Linked DNA regions of Homo sapiens: all the other regions are linked to region 2. Evidence: promoter capture Hi-C in 16 types of primary human blood cells and fetal thymus (Javierre and others, 2016). All regions are on one chromosome and are shown on one strand. Each heading gives the region's core, a stretch centred on a gene start or on the middle of the fragment in contact. The rest is flanking DNA. Distances are from core to core; before and after follow the strand shown. Region 1 has its middle 130 kb from the start of RGS21. Region 2 holds the start of RGS13 (regulator of G protein signaling 13). Region 3 has its middle 110 kb from the start of RGS1. Region 4 has its middle 83 kb from the start of RGS1.

What was found. Contacts are between HindIII fragments. The CHiCAGO score rates a contact against its expected background, and 5 or more counts as called.
Region 1: a contact is called between a fragment that was not itself captured here and the fragment with the promoter of RGS13 in region 2, in 2 of 17 cell types (total CD4 T cells and naive CD4 T cells). The highest score is 6.9, in total CD4 T cells.
Region 3: a contact is called between a fragment that was not itself captured here and the fragment with the promoter of RGS13 in region 2, in 7 of 17 cell types (total CD8 T cells, total CD4 T cells, non-activated CD4 T cells and 4 more). The highest score is 10.9, in total CD8 T cells.
Region 4: a contact is called between a fragment that was not itself captured here and the fragment with the promoter of RGS13 in region 2, in 1 of 17 cell types (total CD4 T cells). The highest score is 5.2, in total CD4 T cells.

What each region holds. Positions count from the first base shown.
Region 1 is chr1:192,442,123-192,445,299 of GRCh38, reverse strand. No RefSeq gene overlaps it. Among named protein-coding and RNA genes, the nearest start is that of RGS21, 130 kb to the right of the region's middle. The HindIII fragment of the contact is 7,303 bases long and covers 1-3,177 here.
Region 2 is chr1:192,634,004-192,637,396 of GRCh38, reverse strand. It overlaps RGS13 (regulator of G protein signaling 13), which reads right to left and starts at 1,250. Exons shown (of 7, transcript NM_002927.5): 1 at 1,080-1,250. LOC107985241 (a long non-coding RNA gene) reads right to left here. Exons shown (of 2, transcript XR_001738348.2): 2 at 2,847-3,388. The HindIII fragment of the contact is 2,675 bases long and covers 1-2,417 here.
Region 3 is chr1:192,462,878-192,466,398 of GRCh38, reverse strand. No RefSeq gene overlaps it. Among named protein-coding and RNA genes, the nearest start is that of RGS1, 110 kb to the left of the region's middle. The HindIII fragment of the contact is 4,743 bases long and covers 1-3,521 here.
Region 4 is chr1:192,490,968-192,494,267 of GRCh38, reverse strand. No RefSeq gene overlaps it. Among named protein-coding and RNA genes, the nearest start is that of RGS1, 83 kb to the left of the region's middle. The HindIII fragment of the contact is 2,741 bases long and covers 61-2,801 here.

The DNA.
Region 1 (3,177 bases), core at 407-2,906, 190 kb after region 2:
TTTATTTTCTAACCTGCCATATTTTATTTAATTGTACATCCTTTGAGGAAAGAACTGTATCTTGTTTGCTTTTGCCTCTGAGAGCCTGGCACATAATGGGAATCTAAGAAATGCTTCATGAATGAATGTCAGGCATTTCATACTGACAGAGGAGAATGAAAAAAAAAAGCCACACAGAACACAGAATGTACTTTAAATAATGGTCCCAAAGTGAGCATTTTCTAGTTAATATTGTTATCAATCACATTTGATCAATAACAGTGAGTATAAATTCATCATTAACTTGCTAATATCACGAATGTGAATATTATCATGAAATGATTACTATTCTTCCTATTTCTTGGGGTGTGGAGTAAAATAATTTTAATAGATTAGAGAGATAAACATTATCTTAACCACTTTGCATATTAACATTAACTTGTACTTGCAAAACTCTCCATCTCCTCACTCACCGCATCTATAAACTGAACCAAATAAAATTAGACTCAACACTGATCTTTCCATACGCTGGTTGGCACTCCCTCATCAGCTAGAAGTTTAAGTTTTAAGTTTTTTAAACCCCCTGTTTACAAACCTTCTGCTTATTTCCAAATAATGCTGCAATGCTAACATCTGAGCCAACAAGACTTACTTTTCAAGAACCAAATGCTCAGCTAAATAAAGACACAGTATCTTGGAGTTATGTGGGTTAATGAACACTTTTGTGAGTAGTTTAGTTTCTTCGAAGGAAAAATGTTTCAGATAAATAAATTTGTATTGTATAAAATTGGAATAATATTTTCAATGGCAACATTGTAACAAACAGTGTTTAAATTTCCATTGTAAAGCTGGAAAATGGAATTGACTGAGATCTCATTTCTGCTACATATCAATATGCTAAAATAACCCATACACACACTCACACCTGCACACACTTTCTATCTCCACTAATTAAGATCTTAAATGAGTTGAGATTAAAGACAGGTAATGATAATGCATTCTGACCAAACACAAAGTCTCCCATGATGTTCACTGGACAAACTGAGAGGCAGCATAGAATCTGGGCACTGCAGCTCTAACTGCCATTTTCATGGACTTTTTCATGTTTTCTGACTTAAAAAATGAGCTATTTAACATTGAAAGTCTAGAAGAGATATGAACATTTTCTGTGTCTTCAAAGGTGATCTTTATTCTTCCCAGGAATATGAGAAAAACTGTTTCTCCTTCACAATCTATGTAGATTTTGTAGAAAGATATTTAAAAAATATAGATAGTAGAATCCTAAATCTATGCATATAAACCATTGCTCTAAACATGCACAATGCTAACTGCCACACATTTATTCTTTGCAGAAACAATCCCATGCATACTCTCCTCTCTGTATCTCTCCTTTATTTCCTCTCCCATCCAGGAACATACATACATATTTTGGTTATTTCTTCCATACTTTATGTACTCTTTTAAAATCCAGTTTTCTGTGCATGAGTCATGTATCACTTTGATGAATCATTTCCACAAACCTTTAACAATACAAATCTGTTTCTTTTATTAACAAAGTGTTTCAGATACCTTACTTCCAGAATAGAGGACAAATGGGTGATTTGTGAAAGTTCCCTCTCTTTCATTACACTACTTTTTGTTCTCTCTGCCTATACCTTTGGCTGGTTTTCTGATTAATACAATGTTAGGCACCCAGGGGCCACTTATTGAAAGTCTGATTAATGAATAAATGCACCATTTGCCCAGTTGTTGAATTAAAGATTTTGAGATAAGAGCAGTTGTCACATATATGTGTTTTGACTTCTTACATTGTTTACAGAAATCTCAAAATATGGGTTATTTTATATATTCTTTTCATGTTTATTCAGTGCCTACCAGAATTTTCTTACCCAAAGGATGTATAATAATGCTGTCTTTACAATTTCCAATTCTGTAATTGTGTTTGAATGGTGGCTCTATCATTTATTAGCTGTATTAATCATTTTATTTTCAGGCTGGGTTCCCTTTGTAAAATGCAGAGAATAATAACTGGCTAATAGGTTTCTCTAGAAGATTAAATGAAATTATATGATAAAAACTGTTAACGAACTTTATCCAGTCATTTATTGCTGCTTAATAAACCACTTTTAAAATTTAGTGGAATAAAATGCAAACTATTGTATTATGCTCATAGATTCTGTGGTTTAGGAACTGGGGATATCTGGTACCTCAGCCCAGAAGGCTCAAATAGCCAGGGATGCATCAAATGCTGGTGGTGTAATCATGTGCAGAGTTCCTTATATACACACGTAGTTGTAATGACTTGAATAGCAAGCTCCTCTGTGGTGTCCACTGGGGATTACACATGTGTTCTCTCCACTTGGTGTGTGCTTCTTGCAGCATGGTGACTGGGCTCCAAGAGGGAGTATCTTCAGAGAGGGTATGTGGAAAGCAAGCATTCCAAACAACGAGGTAGAAGATGTGTGGCTTTTCTGACCTAGCCTCAGATTTCACAGGAAGTCACTTTCCCTATGTTCTTTTAGTTACCAGCTGTTCACTACATCCAGCCTAGATGCCAAGGAAATGGGAACTAGACTTCATTTAAGAATGGGCAAGGTCACATTGCAGGAGGACCTATGGGTGGAAGATATTTTTGTGGTCATCTTTGTAAAATGCAATCTGTGTAAATAGTGCTTGGCATATACTAAGTGATCAAAAACATTTTGCTATTACTGTAAAGGGTCCTATATAATTATAGTGTATACTTACGGATATATATATATTTGAGATGCAGTCTTGCTCTGTTGCCCAGGCTAGAGTGCAGTGGTGCAATCTCTGCTCACTGTAACCTCCACCTCCCAGATTCAAATGATTCTCCTGCCTCTGTCTCCTGAGTAGCTGGGATTACAGGTGTGTGCCACTGGGCCCGGCTAATTTTTATATTTTTAGTAGAGACGGGGTTTCACCATGTTGGTCAGGCTGGTCTTGAACTCCTGACCTTGTGATTCTCCTGCCTCGGCCTCCCAAAGTGCTGGAATTACAGGCATGAGCCACCGCACCCGGCCTACTTATGGATGCTTTTGCATTTGTAGTCTGAGAAATAGGCTCTGAATTTAATAAGAACTCCGAATTCATCACCTGGGACAGTGACTTACATACCTGGCTCTCAGTCATTATTCGTTGAATGAATATGAATGTTTTGGTGACTGAACTAGTTCT
Region 2 (3,393 bases), core at 1-2,500:
TCATGGCTTATTATAAAAATTTCTTTACTGTTTTAATTTGTAATTTTCCATTACTTTTTATTTAAATAATCTATATTTATCTTAATATTGTGTATTAATTTGCTTTCCTTTTTTGTTTTTCAATACCCTCTTGGTAAAACTAGTGTGTACTTTTACAATCGAAACATAGAGTGTTTAGAACAAGTTTAGGTCTCCACGATGATTTTGCCTCCACTGTTTTCTCCTGATAATTATTTGAAAGAAATACATTTCACCGATAGAATCTAATTCTCAGAGTGATTATAAATGCATTGGTAATGGATTGAGTTGTATTAGTAGTATGCCAGAATTAGATTTGTTTCCTCCATTATTTAAATGAAATCTTAAAGTATTATGAAAATAAATAAATTTTCTTAAAGCAATTCTGTCTGTTTACATATATCTGCATTTAAATATGTTTCTTTATTTTATGATATAGCATGTTACATAAAATTTAGTAAAATTTGGAGCAATTTATATTTTAGTGAGCTTTTGTTGACCACAGCACACAAATTTCTTGTCCTTTAAAAAATTCAAGAAATTTGTGCATAGTTGTGCTTAAGCATAACATAAAAGAATAAAAAAATTCTACAAAATCAAGATTAACAATGTTTCAGATAAACCTTATAATAATCCACACCTGGCTTCAGTACAGTTAACAAAGGATGGAACTAATAATTTGGTAATGCATGATTTTTGAAACAAATAATTCAGCTATGTCTGATTTTATAATATGTTTTTATCTAAACATATAAAATGAAAAACATTTAAAATGAAAATATACACAAAAACATAAAATGAAATAATATACTTTAAAACTGTAGCATTTCCTCTGTTGCCCAACTTAGAAGATTTATTTATATAAGGAGTGACTCTAAGTTTTGTTTTAAATATAGAAAGCCAGGCAAAAGAATATGTGTTTGTTAGTTTGTCTTTTTTTCTTAGAAAAACCTCTGTTAACACTCCCAGAAGTTCTACCATTGAAATCAGCATCTGCTAGTGATTTATAGCAAGCCAATAGTCTTGTATTTATCAACTATTTTATAGAATCTCATACTTACAAATATATCCTGTCGAGCAGTCCACCATGCTAAATTTGATCTCCTCTTTGTTATGATCCGTTTGAAATCAGGTTCTGAAATTTTGTGAGACACCCAGCATTTTATTTTTCCCAGAGTAAAAGGATTTTACTGTCTCTATAATTACCTTCGATGGCACTCTGGCCTCAGTATGAATGTTCTGTTTTTACACACACGTATCTATGCAAAGAGAGGTTTTGTTGAATATGGAAAGTAGTGCTGTAGGACTCCAGTGCATTACTGATAAAGAGGTTTTATCTAACATTATCAGACCATCTGAAGTGATCAGATGATTGGAAGCAGCAGCTTCATGAAATCTTCAAAGTAATACTCAAATCTTTTTCTCCAAAATAATTTTTCTAGTTTTAGAAAATGTATAGTCTAAAGTAAAATTCCCTTTTAAAAAAGACAGAGAACTGAGTACAAACACATAGGACATCACTGCAAACACATGTTAGCAAATGGTTGAGAACTATTAAAATCAATCTGTTTGTAATAGATTACTAGGGACTTTTAACAACTGAAGGATCTAAAAAAGTATCTTTTCTAGTTATACCTCTCTAGTTCCTTCAACTGGTCCTCTACAGCAGTTCTGGACTCCGTTGTTCTACAGTTTGTTAACATGCCTTCAAAATCTGAATTGAACACAGTGCTTAAGATAAGGTCTAATGAATACAGAATATGGTAAGATTGTGAATGCCCTTGTCCTGGATTTACTCCAATTGTGTGTGTGTGTGGGGAGGGGTGGGGGAGTTGGGGGGTTTGGGGGGAGAGAGAGAGAGAGAAACAGAGAGGTAGGAGTAAAGAAATGCTAGAATAAAACAGCAGTAAAGAAGATCAAAATGTGGTTGATGGAGTGTTTCTTAAAATATTTAGGGGCCCAATGAGATAGAAGATTAACCTTACTTGTCTTTTATAATTTTGAGATTCAAACCCAAGAAAATTGAATTTCTCAAACCTGAGAGATAAGTTTGGGACTAGAAAAGGAAAGGAAACTTTGGAAAGTCAGAAGCTGCGTAGATGTAGCAATAATGTAGGAAGTGAAGGGCAGGTTAGCCTCAGCTTGGGAGGATCTGGGTTGTTTGTGGATAGCACTCATTTTCTCTGGGTGCTAGGTGTGCGATTTCCTCCCCACTCAGGACATTTTGGATGCTGGATCTCTTCAGGAAATCTTCAGTGTCATAGTCAAGACTTTTCCTCACCCCAAATAATTCATTTTTTTGGGATTTGGAATGTTTGCTCTTTCTCATGGTGTGGATGCAAGGAGCTGGCAGGAAGATTCTGGAAGTAACACCCTGTGCGAGTGTCAGTTTCAAAGCTTGTTTAATGGAGTCAAACATGAGAATCTCCCTACAGAGTAAAACTTAAGTATCGACAGGGACTGAAAAACAAATAAATCATAGAGTGAAGAGTAACAGCACGAGTAGGTGGAAATTCCTGGAGGAATTCAAGAGCAATGTGTAGATATTTGTGGCAGATTTCTAAACATGGTTTTGTTTCTCTGAAAAAGTGTAGTTCAAGTTCAGTTTATGAAATCATAGCAATATAATGCTTTGTACGGCACATAGGTGGATCAGACTAATTCAGAGCTGTCAGGTTAGGGCAGGTAACAGGATTATGCTTTCGTTGGTGCAGCTTGGGAATGCCCTTTCCATTGAAAGGCTGTCCTTCTGATGAACTGATCTGCTTACTCTAGAGCACTTTTACTATATTTCAATTTCAGCCAATGTAAGTCCAAAGTAACACAAGTTCAAATGTGCACAATTAAAAATCTTTAATATTTTTATGTTGAAAGTTCAAAATGAACTTTACAAGAGCAGAAAAATGAAGTATTAGAAATTATAAATTCAGAATTTGCCATTTATGTCTTCTACAAAAAGTGGAGAAATATAATTACTGGTTAATGTTCGTGATGACAGCTTAAGAAATAAGCCTACTATTTTCAGTGCATCCTATTTATACTATATAGTGTTTGCCATTTGTTCAGAGGGTGGCTCTTTTCAATATATTCTAGAAGCAAGATAAACTCTTGGACACTGGGGTGAATTGTCTGGTGAAATGTATCCAGTAGGCAGTGGTTTGTGCCAGTGTTTGGAAGAAGACTGGCTTCTGCTCCTGCTTTCCATGGACGCTGATCTGTCCCTCTTAGCCTTTCAGGTCTGTCCTCTCTGCCTTCATTTTCTTCCAAGCTTCTTTGCAGCGCATTCTCAGTCTGTCTTCATACACTCATTGTCCGCATCTTGGAGTGGACGACTCAGAGACTTGACCAGTCTCCCGTCCCCTCTGGTTTGCTGCC
Region 3 (3,521 bases), core at 758-3,257, 170 kb after region 2:
AACTGAACTCACTGGGATAAAGAATTGAATGATAATTACCAGAAACTGGGAAGGGTAGTGGAGACAAGGGGTCGGGGGAAAGTGGGAATGATCGATGGGTACAAAAATATAGTTAGGTAGAATGAATAAGATCTAGTATTTGACAGCATAACAACATTACTATAGTTGACAACTGTTTATTGTGTATTTCAAAATAACTAAAAGAGTAAAATTGGAAAGTCCCTAACACAAAGAAATGATAAATGCTTGAGGTGATGGATACCTTAACTACCCTTATGTGATTATTATACATTGCATGCCTGTATCAAAACAGCACATGTATCTCTTAAACATATACATCTATTATGTACGCGTAATAGTTAAAAGTTAAAAATAAAAAAAACTAAGAATTGAATTAATTAAATAGTAGATGTGCAACTTGAGGTCTTGTTTTTAGATCCAAGGTAGAACCTCACAAATTGATCTGCACTTAGTAAAGAACCCAACAAATATTTGTTGAATTAATTAAACTTTTAAAAGGATCTGCATTACATTGGCAAGGACTTCATGACTAAAACACCAAAAGCAATGGCAACAAAAGCCAAAATAGACAAACGGGATCTAATTAAATTAGAGAGCTTCTACATGGCAAAAAAACTACCATCAGAGTGAACAGGCAACCTACAGAATGGGAGAAAATTTTTGCAATCTACCCATCTGACAAAGGGCTAATATCCAGAATCTACGAAGAACTCAAACAAATGTAAAAGAAAAAAACGAACAACCCCATCAAAAAATGGCAAAGAATATGAACAGACACTTCTCAAAAGAAGACATTTATGCAGCCAACAAACACATGAAAAAAAAATGCTCATCATCACTAGTCATCAGAGAAATGCAAATCAGAACCACAATGAGATACCATCTCATGCCAGTTAGAATGACAATCATTAAAATGTGAGGAAACAACAGATGCTGGAGGGGATGTGGAGAAATAGGAATGCTTTGACATTGTTAGTGGGAGTGTAAATTAGTTCAACCATTGTGGAAGACAGCGTGGTGATTCTTCAAGGCTCTAAAACTCGAAACACCATTTGACTCAGCAATCCCACTACGGGGTATATACCTAAAGGATTATGAATCATGCTGCTATAAAGACACATGCACACGTATGTTTATTGTGGCACTATTCACAATAGCAAAGACTTGGAACCAACCCAAATGTCCATCAATGATAGACTGGATTAAGAAAATGTGGTACATATACACCATGTAATACTATGCAGCCATTAAAAAGGATGAGTTCATGTCCTTTGCAGGGACATGGATGAAGCTGGAAACCATCATTCTCAGCAAACTATCACAAGGATAGAAAGCCAAACACCGCATGTTCTCACTCATAGGTGGGAATTGAACAATGAGATCATTTGGACACACAGGGGGGAACATCACACAATGGGGCCTGTTGTGGGGTGGGGGGCTGGGGGAGGGATAGCAATAGGAGAAATACCTAATGTAAATGATGAGTTATTGGGTGCAGCAAGCCAACACGGCACATGTATACCTATGTAACAAACCTGCACGTTGTGTACATATACTCTAAAACTTAAAGTATAATAAAAAAAAGAAAAAGAAAAAAATGCAAAACCACGTCTGTGAACTTACATATCACCATCATGGGAACAACTTTTCATTAAAACTTTAAGGATACTGAACAAAAAAAGGACCTGCCTTAATTAAACTTAGCACAGAAAATTACTTATATTTCTTTGATTTCAGAAAATCCAGGAAGACTCAATCACCCCAAGTAATATTCTCGAGAAGATCAGTAATATTTGAAATGCTACTTCAGAAAATCACTTATTTATTCATCAAATCTAGATGCACTATTTATTAGGTACAAGTCACTCTGCTTGGTGCTGGGAATACAAAAAATAGTGGTTTACAGTCTGGTGCAGGGAGTCAGGTGTGCAAATAGCAATCACTTATTTTGTTGTATTTATTTTTTGACCAATGATCATCTGCCTTTTGTTTAGTGAATTCCTCTCCTCATCCTTCTTCTATTTCTTTCTTTATTTCCTAAGTATTGCTCATTTTGGACAACCGGTTAGTTTTGAAGAAGAGTTGGGAGAGGTATCAGAGAGGAAGGTGGGCTTGCGGTTTAAAAATTCAGACAGATTTCTCCAAGTGTTTTGTTATACTCTTCCATATTTTAGGGTAGCAGGAAGGTCCCCTGGGGGGCTCTGCGAAGTCCACTGTGTCACCCACATACGTGTTTTTCCAAATGTACACGCACAGGAGTGCTGAGATCTTTTCTTCTTTTCTAGCTGGTACAGGACTGCTTGCTATTTATATTTTATTTTCTATGCCGCCACTCTCACAGCAAAGGCAGTTTTCTATATATTTCCTCTTTCAGTTCCACCTTCCCGGCCACTTCTTTGTAATACAAAGGCATCAGGGAGGCTCCCAATGCCTGTCCACCCACTGGAATCTTGCTATTCTAGCAGGAGACCACTGTTTGCCCCTTAAGGTGTGATGCAACTAGAGCAAGCCCTGCCCTGAGCACTGTACCAGCGCTCTGCTCAGATCTCCTACAAGCAGTCAATGCCCTGGTCCAATTTTCATTGTACTTCAGAGCTCATCTTTGTATATTTCCATTCAGGGTTATGAGCTTTTGTTAATTTTACTGAAGGTGTAGTGGTCTTTTCTGTTCTTCCCCTTTCTGTTCTTCCCCTTGTTACTTTTGGATAGTTTCTAAGAAGAGAAAAGAAGAGTCAGAGACATTGGCTCAGCCTTCTTTTCCCAGAATTTTCTCAAAAGACTTAAAATGTAGTCTTAGTGAGAGGGAGGGAAAGACGGAATGCTGAAAATTGTTGGTGATAGGAAATTAAAGTTTAAGATTTAAGAGGTGAAGGAATTTGAGATGGTGACACGTTCTAATTTCATCTCCATTCTTTTTTTTTTTTTTTTTTTTTTTTTTTTTTGAGACGGAGTCTCGCTCTGTCGCCCAGGCTGGAGTGCAGTGGCGCGATCTCAGCTCACTGCAAGCTCCGCCTCCCGGGTTCACGCCACTCTCCTGCCTCAGCCTCTCGAGTAGCTGGGACTACAGGCGCCCGCCACCACGCCCGGCTAATTTCTTTTTGTATTTTTAGTAGAGATGGGGTTTCACCATGTTAGCCAGGATGGTCTCGATCTCCTGACCTGGTGGTCCACCTGCCTCAGCCTCCCAAAGTGCTGAGATTTCAGGCGTGAGCCACCGCGCCCGGCCTTCATCTCCGTTCTATCAGAGGTAGAATGGAGATGAAAAATAAAGGAGATGAAGAAGTGAGGAAGCTGAAGAGCAGGGATTTTTACTCCATCATTCAGGTAAAAATGGAAGGATAATTGCAGTAATTGGGATTGGAGGAAAGATTGCGGATTATATAACAAAGTTTTCAGATAATGTGCATTAACTGAAAGCTAAGTGGTGAAAGAATACAAATACAAGCATTATAATGCTGTGTTTAAGAGAGAAGCTGCAGCCCATGGCAGCTTAAGAGATA
Region 4 (3,300 bases), core at 182-2,681, 140 kb after region 2:
CCCCCGCTCTATAGGTAGTCTATTTATTTTGTTGGTTATTTCTTTTGCTATCCAGAAGCTTTTTAGTTTAGTTAAGTCCCATGTATCTATTTTTGTTTTTCTTGCATTTGTTTTTGGGGTCTTTGTCATAAATTCTTTGCATAGGCTAATGCCCTGAAGAGATTTTCCTAAAATTCTAATATTTCTTAAACTTAATTACCTCATAAACTCTTAACTCAATCTTTTGATTTGGTATTATATGTAGAGTAACATTAAAGATGTAAATAATTATTAGAAACTTATTTTGGAACATTTTAAATGTGTACTAAAGTTGACAATATAATGAATTCCTATCTACCCATCACCCAGCTCAACAATTATCAACATTTTCCCATTCTTATTTGTCTATACCCTATCTTATATATGAGTTTTCTCTAGATTATTATAAACCACATAACAGATATTGCATAATTTCACATATAAATATTACAATATACATCTTTAATAGATAATTATAAAAAAGGCTTAGCTTAGCAGTATTTCATCACGAATAACAACATTTTACAAATAATGTCACATCATCCAATAAGTGGCCCAATGTTCTATTTTCTTCTTTTATCTAAAAACATGTCTTTTTACAGTTTTTTGAATCAAGATCCAAACACAGACCACATATTGTATTTAGTTAATATGTCTCTAAATGGCTTTTTAAAATAATGTCATATATTTGTTGAAGATACTAGTTTATTATTTTTCTACCTCTAGGTATGGTGGTTGTATCTCTATCACCCATATTTCCTGTAAGTTGACAATTGATAGACTTGATTAGATTCAGATTCAACTTTGGAAAAAATACTTTATAGGTGGTGCTATACATAGCATCTTTCATTGCATCAGGGGCATGTAGGGGGCATATTATTGAGTTTCACTTTTAGTGATGTTAAGATTGATCAGTAGGTTAATGTGTTGCTTGTTATATAGTGATGAGAGGCCAGATAATTTCATTACAGTTTGCCAATGGTGATTTACTAATTCTATAATCTTTTTACATTTATTAGCTAGAATTCTTCCATGGAGAAGATTTTCATTAGGTATTTGGTTACTATGGCAGATTGATTTTCCTGAAAGGCAGACATTGAGATGGAGATAAGTGGAGGGCATTTAGTAAGCATTGCTTTTGGGATCAATATTTTTTGGAAGAGAGTTCAAGATGTTCAGATACACCAACCTAGCTCTCCCTACCTCATGTGTCAAGATCATACTTTTTTCCCAGACAGAAACCTGATGTTGGTGTTGCAGACCTGCCTTGGTTGGAAGTTTAACCTTTTTTGGAGTTTTGCTACTTTTATAGGCCTCGTCATCAGCTTTTTCTGTACAGTCTGCCTTCCCACCTTAGGAGAAAAGACATGACTCCTCTTCCTCCAGTCTCTCTCTCTCTCTGACCAAGGTGACCTATGACTTTTACACTTAACTTTTATTTGTAAATTAATCACTCTTAGTTTTCATCTTTCTTCCCAGAGTGTTACTTGAGCTCACTCAAGTCTCCTTATAATTACTACTCCCCCATGTTTCACAATTTGACACATTGCACTAGCTAATGCATTTCTCTTCAGCAGTGCACCAACCTAGTGAAAATATTACCATTTGCATTGGTATCTTGTGCCAGAGGCTATTTGTGCTCCACCTGCCATCAGCGGTAGGCTCCTCATTGCCAGCTCTGGAGCAGGTTAATTCAGCTCTAAAACCTTATTTTAGGTTTTGCTTTCTTAAACCACACATGACAATAACTGCTTGCAACAGGTTAGATTTCTTGGGAAGCAAACTGTCATGGAGGTTAGCATCCAGGATACTGACTAGGGAGTGCCCTTGGGAACAGGAGTGGGCAGAGGGAGGAATTGACCTGTGATACAATTTCAGCAATGGCTTCAGCTGATCCCACAGAGAGTTCAGTGCTCTGGTAGATTTCTGAGTCATCTTCAGTTGAGAAAACAGGATTTTATACTGAACAATTACCTTGGGAAAACAGCATGAAATACACTACACACAGGAAAGACAGAACAAACAATCCATAATGCTTTCTCTTTTTAAAATCAGTATTTGAAATTTTCTAGTAATTATCAAAGGTGACCAATGAGTGTGTATGTGCGTGTGTGTTTTGTTTTTGTATAATTAGTAACTTATGGATATATATGACCTTTCCAGTCATTTTTATTGTTGCTCCAACTGTTCCACAGTTTCGCCAGTGGGAGCTGCTCTAATTGGGTTCTCTGTCTCTTTGACATGTTCCCTGTAATCCTTGATTGCTTTCTTGCTTTTCAGCACAACAAGATGTTCCAGACTTATTCAACATATTGTCCAGCCAGTCCTGGAAACAATCAGTTCCCTGAGGACAGAATTAAAGTTTAGAGACCTGAATCTGGGCCCCAGGGGTGGTCATTACTACTGGTTTGCCACTGCTTCTGTAGCTTTTCAGTGAAGAGGTAGTTATGTAATATGTATCTAAAAAAATAAATTCAAGTTATGTATTTTAAAAATAAATTCAAGGTCTATATATTTTAGAAAAAGGAAAAATCATGTGTTCATGTTAATATTTATATTTAAATATATAATTACATGTCTTAATTTATGTTGTTCTACCTTGATAATTCTATACCTCTATTATTTTGCTTTTATACCTTTTCTCCCCAAATTTTCTTAAATTGAAACTCTTGGTTCCTAATTACATGTACATACTTATTTATCTTATACCATATACATATAGTAATTTCAAAATAACAATACAAACATTATTATCATTAACAATAATGCTGCCGAATAAAGCTTGTGATTTCTTTGTGGAGATTTTCATACTTGGGATATATCTCACTAGTGATACTAAAAAAAACCTGCGTTTTAAAGTCACTCGAAATAATTTTTCCCTGTGTGGTTTTGTCAACAATTTGATATGCAGTTAGATCCCTTTACTTCAAAAAATTTTGAGTAACTGCTTAGCTTTTATTTTTGAAATAATCACAGTTTTTGATTACATAGATAGAGCATAAAGCATTTACAGGGTTCCAAAGTGTGTGTGTATGTGTACATATGTATACAAATATGTATACATGTCTATGTAAATACACATACACACACACACACACACACACACACACACACACACATATTCAGAGACATCCATCTTCTGTCCCTGTGTCTTTTGCCATAAGTAACCATCCTAATAATTTTTATTTTATCATTCTATGGTTTCAAAATAAAAGCAAATTTATAGTTATAGTCTTTATTTGAAAGTATTTCTTTAAATTCAAAAATCAGAAAAACTTTCAA